Linked DNA regions of Homo sapiens: region 2 is linked to region 1. The links are contacts of gene promoters, found by promoter capture Hi-C in blood cells and fetal thymus (Javierre and others, 2016). All regions are on one chromosome and are shown on one strand. The core of a region is centred on a gene start or on the middle of the fragment in contact, and the rest is flanking DNA. Distances in the headings are between cores, read along the strand shown. Region 1 holds the start of NOL6 (nucleolar protein 6). Region 2 overlaps DNAJA1 (DnaJ heat shock protein family (Hsp40) member A1).

Region 1 (6,858 bases), core at 4,289-6,788:
GTTTTTGTTTTTTTGAGACAGAGTCTCACTCTGTTGCTGAGGCTGAAGTGCAGTGGCACAATCTCAGCTCACTGCAACCTCCGCCTCCCAAGTTCAAGCAAGTCTCCTGCCTCAGCCTCCCGAGTAGCTGCGATTACAGGCGCGTGCCACCAGGCCCGGTTAATGTTTGTATTTTTTTTAGTAGAGACGGAGTTTCGCCATGTTGGCCAGGCTGGTCTCAAAACCATGACCTCAGATGATCCACCCGCCTTGGCCTCCCAAAGTGCTGGGATTACAGGTGTGAGCCACCATGCCCGGCCTTAATTTTTATATATATAATTTTTGAGACAGTCTCACTTTGTTGCCCAGCCTAGAGTGCAGTGGCACAATCTCAGCTCACTGCAACCTCTGCTGCCTGGGTTCAAGCGATTGTCTTGCCTCAGCCTCCTGAGTAGCTGGGATTACACCTGCCACTGTGCCTGGCTAATTTTTGTATTTTTAGTAGAGATAGGTTTCACCATCTTCGTCAGGCTGGTCTTGAACTCCTGACCTGGTGATCCACCCGCCTCAGCCTTCCAAAGTGCTGGGATTACAGGCGTGAGCCACCACACCCGGCCTAATTTTTGTATTTTTTTATAGAGATGGAGTTTCACTATGTTGTCCAGGCTGGTTTTGAACTCCTGGACTCCCACCTCGGCCTTCCAAAGTTCTGAGATTACAATGCGTCAATTCTTGACCATTCTTGACCACGGGGCTTGATCATTAAGTATGGAATGAATAGTCAATTCATTTCACAGCTTTTTGGTCTTTCTTAGACTTCAATGATGCTGCTTCTTCCCCTCTGTCAATTCAAATTCAAACCATGCTTCAACACTTAGCACAAGCTCCATTTCTCCAGTAAATCTTATCAATCAAAACATTCTGAGCAAAGAGAGCAGCAAGGTCAAAGGCCCAGGAAATAAATCAAATTAGAGTAAGAAAACTCCCAAATAGTTCAATGCAACTGGGGCATAAAATTTGAGGGAGACAATGGTTAAAGGAAAGACGGAAAGGATTGACTATGGTCACAATCATTCAGTAAACATTTATTAAGTACCTACAATGTGCTAGGTATTGGGCATGTACACATGGTCCTCATTTTCACGTATTCACAGTCAAGGGCAAAAAGAGACAACTGGGCTGGGCAAGTGGCTCATGCTTATAATCCCAGTGCTTTGGGAGGCTGATGAGGGAGGATTGTTTGAGATTCTGAGGTCAAGACCACTACCAAATATTTAAAAATTAGCTGGGCATGGTGGCATATACCTGTAGTCCTAGCTACTTGGGAGGATCACTTGAGCCCAGGTATCCCAAGCTGCAGTGAGCTACAACTGCACTGCAGCCTGGGTGACAGTGAGATCCTGTCTCTAAAAAAATAGTAATAAATTTATAAATAAAAGTAAAACAAAAGGAGAGACAATTGATAACCAGAAATTGTAAAAAGCACTAAAAGGAAAATGGATGATATAAGAGAAACGTTTTAGAAAACATATTGGCCAGGCCGGGCGTGGTCGGTCACGCCTGTTATCCTAGCACTTGGGGAGGTTAAGGTGGGCTGATTGCCTGAGTTCGGAGTCCAAGACCAGCCTGGGGAACATGGTGAAACCCTGTCTCTACTAAAATACAAAAAATTAGCCAGGCGAGGTGGTGTGCACCTGTAGTCCCAGCTACTCGGGAGGCTGAGGCATGAGAATTGCTTGAACCCCGGAGGTGGAAGAGGTTGCAGTAAGCTGAGATCTTGCCACTGCACTCCAGCCTGGGCGACAGGGCAACACTCTGTCTCAGAAAAAAAAAAAAAAAAAAAAAAGAAAAAAGAAAATAAAGGAAGGAGGGTGGGAGGGAGGGAGGGAGAAAGAAAGAGAAAACATAACAGCCTGGGCGTGGTGGCTCACGCCTGTAATCCCAGTACTCTGGGAGGCAGAGGAGGGCAGATCACTTGAGGACAGGGGTTCAAGACCAGTCTGGCCAACATGGTGGCCTACTCTACTAAAAATGCAAAAATTAGCCAGGTGTGGTGGTATGTGGCTGTCATCCCAGCTACTCCAGAGGCTGAGGCAGGAGAATCACTTAAACTTGGGAGGTGGAAGTTGCAGTAAGCTGAGATCTTGCCACTGCACTGCAGCCTGCGTGACAGAGAAAGACTCCATCTCAAAAAAAAAAAAAAAAAAAGAAAGAAAACATATCTATATTTGTTTAGAGAACATATTTTAGGACTTTAGTTAAGACCTTGGCCGGGCACAGTGGCTCAAGCCTGTAATCCTAGCACTTCGGGAGGCCAAGGTGGGAGGATCACTTGAGTCCAGGAATTTGAGACCAGCCTGGGCAACATGGTGAAATCCTGTCTCTACAAAAAATTAGTCGAGTGTGTGGTGCACGCCTGTGGTCCCAGCTAGCCAGGAAGCTGGGGTGGGAGGATGGTTTGAGTCCAGAGGTGATATTTATGCTGAGAGGTGAAAGATGAAAAGGAGAAAAAGCCAAGAAAGCAAAATTCCAAATGGAACAAACAGCTTGGGTGAAGTCCCGGAGTTAGGAAAGAACTTAATACAACGAAGGAACTGAAAGAAAGCTGATGTTGCTGTAGCTCAGGGAACCAGGGGTGGAGTAGCAAGAAAAATGATGAGGGCCAGGCAGTGGCCGATGCCTGTAATCCCAGCATTTTCGAAGGCCGAGGCCGGCAGATTCCTTGCGCTCAGGAGTTTGAAACCAGCCTGGGCAACATGGCAAAAGTCTACACAGAAATACAGAAATTAGCCAGGCATGGTGGTGCGCGTGTGTAGTCTCAATTACTCAGGAGGCTGAGGTGTGATTCCACCACTGTATTCTAGCCTAGGCAACAGAGCGAGAACTTGCCCCTCTTCTCCCACAAAAAAGATGGAATAGCTGGGCAAGGTGGCTCACCCCTGTAATCCCAGCACTTTTGGAGGCTGAGGTGAGCGGATCACTTGAGGTCAGGAGTTTGAGACCAGCCTAGCCAACATGGTGAAACCTTGTCTTTACTAAAAATACAAAAATTAGCCGGGTGTGGTGGCATGTGCCTGTAGTCCCAGCTACTCTACTAGGGAGGCTGAGGCAAGAGAATCGCTTGAATCTGGGAGGCGGAGGTTGCAGTGATCTAAGATTGCACCTCTGCACTCCAGCCTGGGTGACAGAGCAAGACTCTGTCGCAAAAAAAAAAAAATAAAATAAAATAAAAAGAAGGAATAGCAAGTGAAGGGCCATATTGATCATGACTTTATGGAAGTTGAAGTTTGTGTTTAGTTTTAAGTACAATTGGAAGACACTGATGAGTTTTTAAAAGGAAGTGACATGATAGAATTTCTATTTTAGAAAACTAATTCTGGCAGCTGTGTGGAAAATGAATTGAAAATGGACATACCGCTCTTCTGAAACTTCCTTAAAAAGCTATCGCATAGCCGGGCGCGGTGGCTCACGCCTGTAATCCTAGCACTTTCAGAGGCCAAGGCGGGTGGATCATGAGGTCAGGAGATCAAGACCATCCTGGCTAACACGGTGAAACCCCGTCTCTACTAAAAAATACAAAAAATTAGCCGGGCGTGGTGGCGGGCGCCTGTAGTCCCAGCTACTTGGCAGGCTGAGGCAGGAGAATCACTTGAACCCGGGAGGTGGAGCTTGCAGTGAGCCGAGATCGTGCCACTGCACTCCGGCCTGGGCGACAGAGTGAGACTCTGTCTCAAAAAATAAATAAATAAATAAATAATAAATAATAAAAAAGCTATTGTATAAACTGACCTGCACTGTTTGAAGTCAGAATAGTGATTGTTGGGGGCAGAGTTACTAGAGGGCAGCATGAGGGGAGATTCTGAAGGTGCAGGAAATGTTCTGCTTATTTTCTGGGAGCTGACTATATGAGTATGTTTGGTTTGTTAGTATTCAAGCTTTACACTTGGGATATGTACATTTTTCCTTATGTATATTGTACTTCAATACAAATTTTTAGACTGGGCACGGTGGCTCACCCCTGTAATCCCAGCATTTTGGGAGACTGAGGAGGGCAGATCACTTGAGGCCAGAGTTTGAGATCAGGCTGGCCATCATGGTGAAACTCTGTCTCTACTAAAAATACAAAAATTGGCCTGGTGTGTTGGCGCATGCCTGTAATCCCAGCTACTTGGGAAGCTGAGCCACAATAATCAATTGAACCAGGAGGTGGATGTTGCAGTAAGCTGAGATCGACCCACTGCACTCTAGCCTGGGCAACAGAGGGACACTCACTCTCTCTCAAAAAAAAAAAAAAAAAAAAAAAAAAAAAATATATATATATATATATATATATATATATATATATATATTATATGGTAATAGTTGAATTTAGATGATCCTGCATTAGGAAATAAAATGAAACATATAACGGTTATTACTGGAATAACTGACAAAATTTAAAGATGGAATTTGTATACTAGTATTGAATCACGATTAAATTTCCTTAATTTCATAATCGGGCTGTGCTTACATAAGAGGTAGTCCTTGATCTTAGTAGATACATACCTAAGTATTTAGGGAGATGTGTGATTGGTTTTCAAATGGTTTTGCAAAATAATATGTAAATACATAGGTAAAGATAAACTTGGCAAAATAGTAACACTAAGTGAATCTAGGTGAAGAGTATATGCGCATTCATTATATTATTCTTGCAACATTTGTTTTAAATTTTTAATAGTTTAAAAATAGGCCGGGAGCAGTGGCTCAGGCCTGTAATCCCAGCATTTCGGGAGGCCAAGGTGGGCGGGTCACTGGCAGTCAGGAGTTTGAGACCAGCCTAGGCAACATGAGGAAACCCCATCTCTAGTGAAAATACAAAAATTAGACGGGTGTGATGGTACCTGCCTGTAATCCCAGCTCCTCAGGAGGCTGAGGCACGAGAATCGCTTGAGCCTGGGAGAGGGAGGATGCAGGGAGCTGAGATCGTGCCACTGCACTCCAGCCTGGGCGACAGAGCAAGACTACTCCAAAAATAAATAAATAAATAAATAAATAAATAAATAAATAAATAAATAAAAATAACTAAATTACTTGAAATTGTAATAAGCTAAGTAATAAGTAAAAACTGGAGAAAAGTCATAACAATAATTCGGGAACAAGATGATGTGACGGGCTAAACCTGGCAGTGAAGACACAGAAAAATGAATAAATTCAAGGTATGTTTTGGAGGTAGAACTGACAAGATTTGTTAACTGATAAGGTGTAGCAAATAAAGAAAAAGGGAGGAATAACTGCTGTAAACAAACCTGACCAAAAGGAACAAACTAGCTCCGCCCTTCCCGATTGCAGCCACGCGAAGGAAGTGAGGAAAAGAAAGCAAAGGCCTAGCTACGGGCAGGCTTCCGTTCTAGCGTCGCGAAGAGGCCGTAAAGCACAGAAACCCGTTTGTCCCCTCCCCTAATGGGCGGGCCTTGAGACTGCCCGGCCAATGGCAAGCGAGTAATCGACTGATAATCCAATAGCTCTGGAGTGGGTGGAGTCCTGAGGAATTGGGGTGGGCTGGACTTGGGCCTGGAGTTAGGCATTTCCGCCCACGTGGGAAGCTATGAGGTATAGACCCGGCTAGAATCTGAAGTGCGGGAGAGTGCTGGACCCTGAGTGATGGGGCCGGCGCCAGCTGGAGAGCAGCTTCGCGGAGCGACTGGAGAGCCAGAGGTGGGTTGAGCCATCGGGGAGGAACAGAGGCTCAATGTGCGCTCCCTTGGCTGCAGGGCCCGAGATGGCGTGATCTGACAGCTTGCGGGTGAAAGCCATGCCGGCGGCCCATTCTGGAGGATGTTTCCAGCCAGTGGCACTGAGACAGGGCTTGCTAGGGGTGATGGAACCTGGCAGTATTTGGTTAGAAGCAGTGAAGCCGGTAGAGCCTCTGCTCTCTTCTGGAGCTCTGCACCTCAAAGTTGAAGAGACCCACACTTGGGTCGTTTCTTTTATTTGGTGGTCCTTGACGATAAGCGGGATCTTCCTCCACAGAATTTGTGTCCAGTTCTGTGCTCCCCGCTGTAGCGGAGGGCATACGGTGCCTCTCCTGGAGCGCTCCAGTAAGGCTCTCTGGGATGAGAGGCATCGTGGAGCGGATGGGCCCACGGCTGTAGGGGAAAAGGTTTGGGATCCTGCACGCTTGCCTTTGAAGCCTGCTCATAGTACGGGTGTACCAGTTGTGGAACCTCGAGTGAATAGTGGGACTTCAAGTGTCTTCAAGAATTATTTTGAGGATTTAATGACTTGCTAAATGTGTCCTCTGGGGTCCAGTCGGTTCTAGCTCCTTCCATCAGTGAGTATTTAGTGTAAACTGAGGCAGTCAGGTCTTCCTAGAGGAGGTGGAACCTGGCAGGATTTGGTTGGAGCGAGAATGGGAAAGACATTTGAGAAGTCCCAGGCCTATATCAGCAGAAGAGGAAACTTCCTGAAAATACAAGGGGCCTGGGCATTACTTAGGGCAGGGCTCAGTCAGCTTCTTTTTTTTTTTTTTTTTTTTGACAGTCTTGCTCTGTTGCCCAGGCTAGAATGCAATGGCACGATCTCGGCTCACTTCAGCCTCTGCCTCCTGGGTTCAAGTGATTTTCCTGCCTCAGTCTCCCGCGTAGCTGAGATTACAGGCATGTGCCACCACACCTGGCTAATTTTTGTATTTTTAATAGAGACGGAGTTTCCCCATGTTGGCCAGGCTGATTTCGAACTCCTGACTTCAGCTGATCCGCCCAGCTCCACCTCCCAAACTGCTGGGATTACAGGCGTCAGCCACCGTGTCCAGCCTGGGCCCAGTCAGCTTCTATCACTACCAATTCCAAACAGAGCTCCATGCTTGTGGTGTCAGGTAGACAGGAGAGCTCTTAACTCAAG
Region 2 (6,785 bases), core at 4,019-6,518, 440 kb after region 1:
CAAAAAAACAAAAAACAAAACCAACAACCCAAATATGTGATATCAATTTGAGTGGTTGATAAAAGTCTTTACCGAGTAAAAACAGCATGGTCCTTCTGATCTAACACAATGATAATATCGCCTGGCTCCAGTCCTGGTTCTTGGTCTCCTTCACCATGGAATGTTATCTTCTGGCCATCTTTCATGCCTAAAAACAAAACATTAATTTTGTACTTTTATTAAATATCCAACTAAGGTCAGAATCATAAAATCTATACATAGATGTTTGTTTATGCATAAAAATCACAGAAATGACTAAGAAAGCCCACTTAAGTAGTTCAGTCCAATTTGCTCCTGAAGAAAGGTATCATAGTGGAGAACACAAACTCCAGAGGCAAAGAGACTAGCCTTCAAATCTCAGAGCTGCTATTCACTGGCTGGATTACCCTGGGGAAGTAAGCTGCATATCCTTTCCAAGTTTCAACTTTCCCACAGACACCTACACCTCATTAGCAATATTTAGAGTATTAACTCAACAGGTATATGCTGGTACTAAACCATGACTGGCTAACACTGGTTATAACCAAAAAATGTTAATTAAGTATTTCAGTTTCATTACTTATAACACATCAAATTACTTCTATTAAAAGTCTAACAGCAATGTAAATCAAGACCCTTCTATTGTAGTATTTATATATAAAACTAAAAAAATTTTAAATCTATAATCTTCTCTTGAGATAGGATCTTGCTCTGTTGCCTAGGCTGGAGTGCAGTGGCACAAACATGGCTCACTGCAGCCTCCATCTCCTGGGCTCAAGTGATCCTCCCACCTCAGCCTCCCGAGTAGCCAGGACCACAGACCAGCTAATTTTTGAATTTTTTTTTTTTTAATAGAGATGGGGGTTCTCATGTCGCTCAGGCTGGTCTTGAACTACTGGGCTCAAGGGATCCTGCCTCGGCATCCTATAGTGTTCGGATTACAGACCTGAGCCCCTGTGCCTGAAAATCCGTATTTTAAAGAACTATTCAGTATAGTCCCCTTAAAAAAAGGGTAATTATACTTTGAGAGGCCGAGTCAGGAGGATACCCTGAGGATAGCACCCTGGAGCACAGGAGTTCCAGACCTTGTCTCATTTAAATTAAACAAGCAAACAAAACAATCAGTGCTAGACACTCCCTTAGCCCATGTGGTCCGTAAAATACAAGGGGAGGAGTATTTTCTAACAGGGCAAAAAAACACGCCTTTTTTTTTTTTTTTAAACTGAGACTTCGTGCCCCTCACCTCTGACCCACATATTTTAGTTCAGTAAGGGTTTGGGCAACGTCTCTTAGAACATAACTCATGTAAGAAAACCTGTGTTTGTAGAGTATTACACCAAAGCAGTTATCTCCTGATTATTTCCCAAGATCACTCTGGTTACCTAACAGAGCAATCATGTTTCACCTTTACGTATGGAAAATATTAATCCTGTATAAACAGAGCCAACAGTACAATGAATTCCTACATATCCATCCAATTTGGCTTCAGCAGTTACTAACTCATGACTAATATTTCATGTATTACACCCCTACGCATGCCCCCCACATATACTTTCAAGCAAACTCCAACTATATCCATTAACCCACAAATACTTCAGTACGTACCTCTTAAATAAGGACTTAAAGCGCTATCAGTATCATACACTGACAAAATTAAACAATCTGTCTTTAATCGTGTATTGAGGCAAAATAACTTGTTATGCTAGGGAAGCAATTAAACTCAGCTAGGTTTTCCTGAATACAGAGTAAGAGTAGGCACAGCACAAATGCCTTCACTTGCTATATAGTTAGGGCATTAATTTCAAGTTCTCACTTACAGTCCATTGTTGATAGGTTCTTGGAAATTGCTTTAAATGAAATGACACATAACAAGACCAATTTTTTTCCCCTCAGCTGTGTTACAGTGACATGACATTATTTGAGGACCTGCATGACATTATTTGAGGTCATTCTGCTAGAAGTCCCAGTTTCCAAGAACCTATCAACAACGTTAAGACTTACTCTGTATGCTATTGGTATCAAGAACACCTCAAAGTATAAACCTTAGGCATGGGCCCACTAAGGGGTAAACACAGATTTATTAAGTTCAACAACTGGCCAAGGAAACTTATTTTTACCTTTCAATGTACTACATTCTTGGGTGGAACCCTGGGGGTCAGAGAGGCCAGTATCATGAGTCACATGATAGAATCCTATTGCAGCCACTTATGTTAATGTAGATTTGTATATTAATATGGAAATATGTTCAAATATTAACAGTTCCAGATTGGTATCATACCACAGTACAGTATAATAGTAGACCCATTTATAAACAGCAAAATCTGAAAAGAGATTACCATAATGTTGACTTAAGTTTCCTTCTGGGGTTATATACATTTCTTAAAATTTCTGCAGTGTATTGCTGTAATACATTTTAAAATGTTTTTGCAAGTTGACAAGAGTAAAATTTAAAAATTGACAAATCAATCAAATCCCGAGAATACAAAAAAAAGGTTATATAGTTATTTCTAAATCTGGAGCCCAATGGGTTAGGGAAGTGTCAAGTCTAAAAAAATGAAAGGTAGTCTATCAAATCAATTAACGGAGCATTTAAATATAATAGATGGGCAAGTAAGCCAATTAAGTGGGCCAATACGCTTATTTAAACTAGCCCAGGCCAGGTATGGTGGCACACACCTGTAATCCCAGCATTTTAGGAGGCCAAGGCAGGCAGATCATTTGAGGTCAAGAGTTTGAGACCAGCCTAACATGGTGAAACCCCATCTCTACTAAAAATACAAAAAAAATTAGCCAGGTGTGGTGGTGCACACCTGTAGTCCCAGCTACCTGGGAAGCTGGGGCAGGAGAATCGCTTGAACCCAGGAGGCAGAGGTTAGAGTGAGCCAAGATCGCATCACTGCACTCAAGCCTGGGCAACAGAGCAAGACTCTACCTCAGAAAAAAACAAACAAACAAAAACATGCCCATTGGTTTAAAAAATAAACATGAGGCGGGGTGCGGTAGCTCATGCCTGTAATCCCAGCACTTTGGGAGGCCGAGGCAGGTCATCACCTGAGGTCAAGTGTTCGAGATCAGCCTGGCCAACATGGTGAAACCCCGTCTCTACTAAAAATACAAAACATTAGCCGGGCATGGTGCTGGGTGCCTGTAATCCCAGGTACTTGGGAGGCTGAGGCAGAAGAACTGCTTGAACCCGGGAGGCAGAGGTTGCAATGAGCTGAGATCGTGCCATTGCACACTCCAGCCTGGGAAACAAGAGCGAAACTCCGTCTCCAAAAAAACCATGAATTTTTATGAGACCCAATTCTTCACCTAACTCCCCTTTCAAATCCTTAAAAGTATGCCTATCCCTTGATCTAGTAACTCCTAATTAAGAATGTGTACAATTCTAATGTTTTAAAAGATGGAAGAACTATGGTTTAACAGGAGAGAATTAAGTTTGGAACACTATTCAATCATTTACAGGACCACAGATTTCAAAAGATGATCCTGTTATATTAAATGAGGAGATTCCTAATATATTCTGTATTAGTAATATACCAATGTGCAAAATTATGTCTGGATAAAAGAACATTATTTACTAAGCTGCTAAGAGTTATTTCTGATTGATAGGATCATATATAACCTAATTAAGAATGATTTTTAAACAATTATAAAATGTTAATAATAAATCTGCCACAGCATTCAAGACTTCAGAATAAGTAACTCAGAACTCACCTTTGTCAATATGAACTTCTAAAATTTTCTTCTCTCGAACTATCTTCCTTCCGTTGCAGCTTTTACATCTATCTTTAGGACTGATCCGCTCCCCATGGCCCTGGCACTCCATGCACACAGACTGAATTTGCTGAACCATTCCAGGTCCTATCTGATGAATTCTTATTTGCATTCCAGTACCTCGGCAATTGGGACAGCACTCTACTGCTCCTTTCTTACCTCCTCTACCTAAATTTAAAAAGAAAATTAAATAATGTATGAATTAGTAGTGTATACAGTAGTAAATGTTTTAAGAAGACAATTCCTAAATGCTATACTTTTAATATTTTCGAAGCCTGATGGAATGCTACCCTCTGAATGTACAACTGATGAGATCATTCCAATGAGTTTCATTCTTATTAGAACACACTTTCCAATAAATTTTACTTATTACAAAAAAGATACCAAACTAGCTTGATCCCAACTGTATTTAAAATATACACAGAAAAAAGTGCTGATATTTCTTTAGGTGGGAGGTTTTCAGTTGGTTTTCTTCATATCTGCCCTCTCCTCCCCCAAAATCTAGGTAGTGTACATGAATCAATTTTACATATCTATCTAGAAGTCTTAGCTCCATTTTCAGGTGTCATATTAAAGGTGCTTAAAAACAAAACAAAACAAAACAAAAAAACACCGTACCTTCACATTTGTCACAAATCACATTCTTTTGCAGAGCCAGTTTTCTTGTTGCACCATTATATAAGTCTTCTAGGGTTACTGAGAGCTGATGTACAACATTTTTACCTAAAACAAAATATTTCTCATTGCAAATCTGTTTAAGATGCTGGATCTTATTTGTGCTAAAGGCACTATAAAGAATGTGGCAAAGAATAATAAAAGATGAGCCTCACAGGGTACATCTGTTGACTACCTACTATATACACAGAATGTTCACGTTATCACAGATGATCCTCAAACTGTGATGTAATCACAGATGAGGGAAAATCAGGTCAGAGATTAAATATTTGCTTAAGGGCACAGACGTGGCCATCTTGGAAATATGGTAAGCAAAAGCATTACCTTCAAAGTCACTTGAGAAAAACCAATGTTATTTAAAAGGGCACATTTCACAATAATCCAAACATTCATTTCTGTCACAATATATTTTTTGAAGCTTTCACTTCGTACCGTATTGAGCAACATGGCCAATTACTTCATCCAAAAATTCTGTAGCACAGTAAATTCTCATTAATCAAGATTGGCCAGGGAAGCTGATGTATTTATTGAGTCACCACAGAAGAGTATCAATTTCTACTTCTTCCTGATTTAGTAGAAAACAGCCCATTTACTGCTGGGCCAGCACTGGTTGTTTTGAAGGCCAAATTTCTCATACCTTTTATAATAGCATTGCCCAACAGAACTTTCTGCAGTGATAAATGTTTTATATCTGTTCTGTCCAACGTAGCAGCCACCAATCACATGTGCTTATTGAGCATGTAAATGTGGCCATTTAGACTAAGAAACCGTATTTTTGTTTTTGTCTTAAATTAATGGAGCCACACATGGCCAGTGGCTACTAAGGAGTGCCTTACTTCACTTAAATCAGAATAGGAAATGGAAGGTCAAGATCTCATAAGGACACTGAGGTTAGAAGTATGAAGTCACCTGCTAGTAAGTTAGTAAGTTCCTAACTAGTGGTCCTTCCACAAGGACTTATTCACAACAATATTATTGCCTTTCCACCAACTGAAAAAAGTTCTCAAACTCGTTTCTGTACAATATGCCTAATGAACATTTTAACTTTCTAATCAAGCATGAAATACCATTAATTATGTCCTTCTGCTTATAGTTCCACCTTTAGTTTTGGCACGCTAAAATCTAGCTGCCCTTATTTTGAACAGTGTTGAGTATAAGGAAGGAAAAATAAAGCTTCTAGAGCTTGATGAAGCGCATTTCCCCAGAAATAACCTCTCAATATGATCATAAGCCACATAAAAGAGCTTGCCAATGTTAACCTGCAGGTTCTTTGTAAGGTAAGTGAAAAACCACCACTACTTTTTTGTGGACAAATTCTAACAATTTACTAAGCAAGTCATTTGGATTGTGGACTTTCTTTTTAAGGAGTTTAAGTATCTTAATAAAAACATAATCCTTTCCTTGAAGATCTTTAAAGAAAAACTGAATAAACAATTTCCCAAATCTTTCTGAACCTTAAGAAGCTCAAAGTGAAATTTAATGGCTTGGCCATTCATTCTAAAACTGGTTCTGCTCATCAGCCCTTATTTGTATACACTATACTGGAAATAAAGTGAGACTGATTTCTCTTGAACATTTTACTCCTATAAGCAGTATTTCTAGAGCCCATAGGCCACTTTCCTGATAAACATATTAAATACATAATTTTGACACAATAAAGCTGAAACAAGAATAGATAGATGGCAGGCAACGAACCAGTTTTCAGCCCTGGCTCTGTTGGCTTGCTATATGAGCTTGAAGAAGTTTTAGGTTTCTGAACTTTAACTTACTCCCATTTGAAAAAGGCCACTGTACCTACCATCAAATTCCTTTGGGGAGTGAGGGAACACCAAATAAGATCTGTAAAAAGGGCTTGGAAAATTATATTGCTATATACTTTGTCTTTTTTTTTTTTTTTTTTTTTTTTTGAGACAAGAGTCTCGCTGTGTTGCTCAGGCTGGAGTGTAATTGGGCGATCTCAGCTCACTGCAACCTCCACCTCCCGGGTTCAAGCGACTCTCCTGCTTCAGCCCTCCTGAGTAACTGGGATTACAGGCACGCACCACCATGCCTGGCTAATTTTTGGATTTTTTTGGGTTTTTTGTGACAGAGATTCACTCTTGTTGCCCAGGCTGGAGTGCAGTGGCGTGACCTCCGTTCGCTGCAACCTCTGCCTCCAGGGTTCAAGCGATTCTCCTGCCTCAGCCTCCAGAGGAGCTGGGATTGCAGATGCCCACCACCACGCCCAGCTAATTCTGTAGTTTTGTAGAGATGGGGTTTCACCATCTTGGCCAGGCTGGTCTCGAACCCTGACCTCAGTGATCCACCCACCTCGG

The links. The method cuts DNA at HindIII sites, captures the fragments that hold promoters and counts their contacts. A CHiCAGO score of 5 or more calls a contact.
Region 2: a fragment that was not itself captured here is called in contact with the fragment with the promoter of NOL6 in region 1 in 2 of 17 cell types (naive B cells and naive CD8 T cells); the score reaches 6.1 in naive B cells.

Annotation. Positions count from the first base shown.
Region 1 is chr9:33,472,604-33,479,461 of GRCh38, reverse strand. NOL6 (nucleolar protein 6) reads left to right here and starts at 5,538. Exons shown (of 26, transcript NM_022917.5): 1 at 5,538-5,673. The coding sequence starts at 5,620. LOC107987061 (a long non-coding RNA gene) reads right to left here and starts at 5,322. Exons shown (of 3, transcript XR_001746648.3): 1 at 5,265-5,322. RefSeq lists an enhancer at 5,587-5,926. The HindIII fragment of the contact is 3,045 bases long and covers 3,917-6,858 here.
Region 2 is chr9:33,027,618-33,034,402 of GRCh38, reverse strand. DNAJA1 (DnaJ heat shock protein family (Hsp40) member A1) reads right to left here. Exons shown (of 9, transcript NM_001539.4): 4 at 4,414-4,518; 5 at 3,736-3,963; 6 at 73-187. Among named protein-coding and RNA genes, the nearest start is that of DNAJA1, 5.7 kb to the right of the region's middle. The HindIII fragment of the contact is 755 bases long and covers 4,891-5,645 here.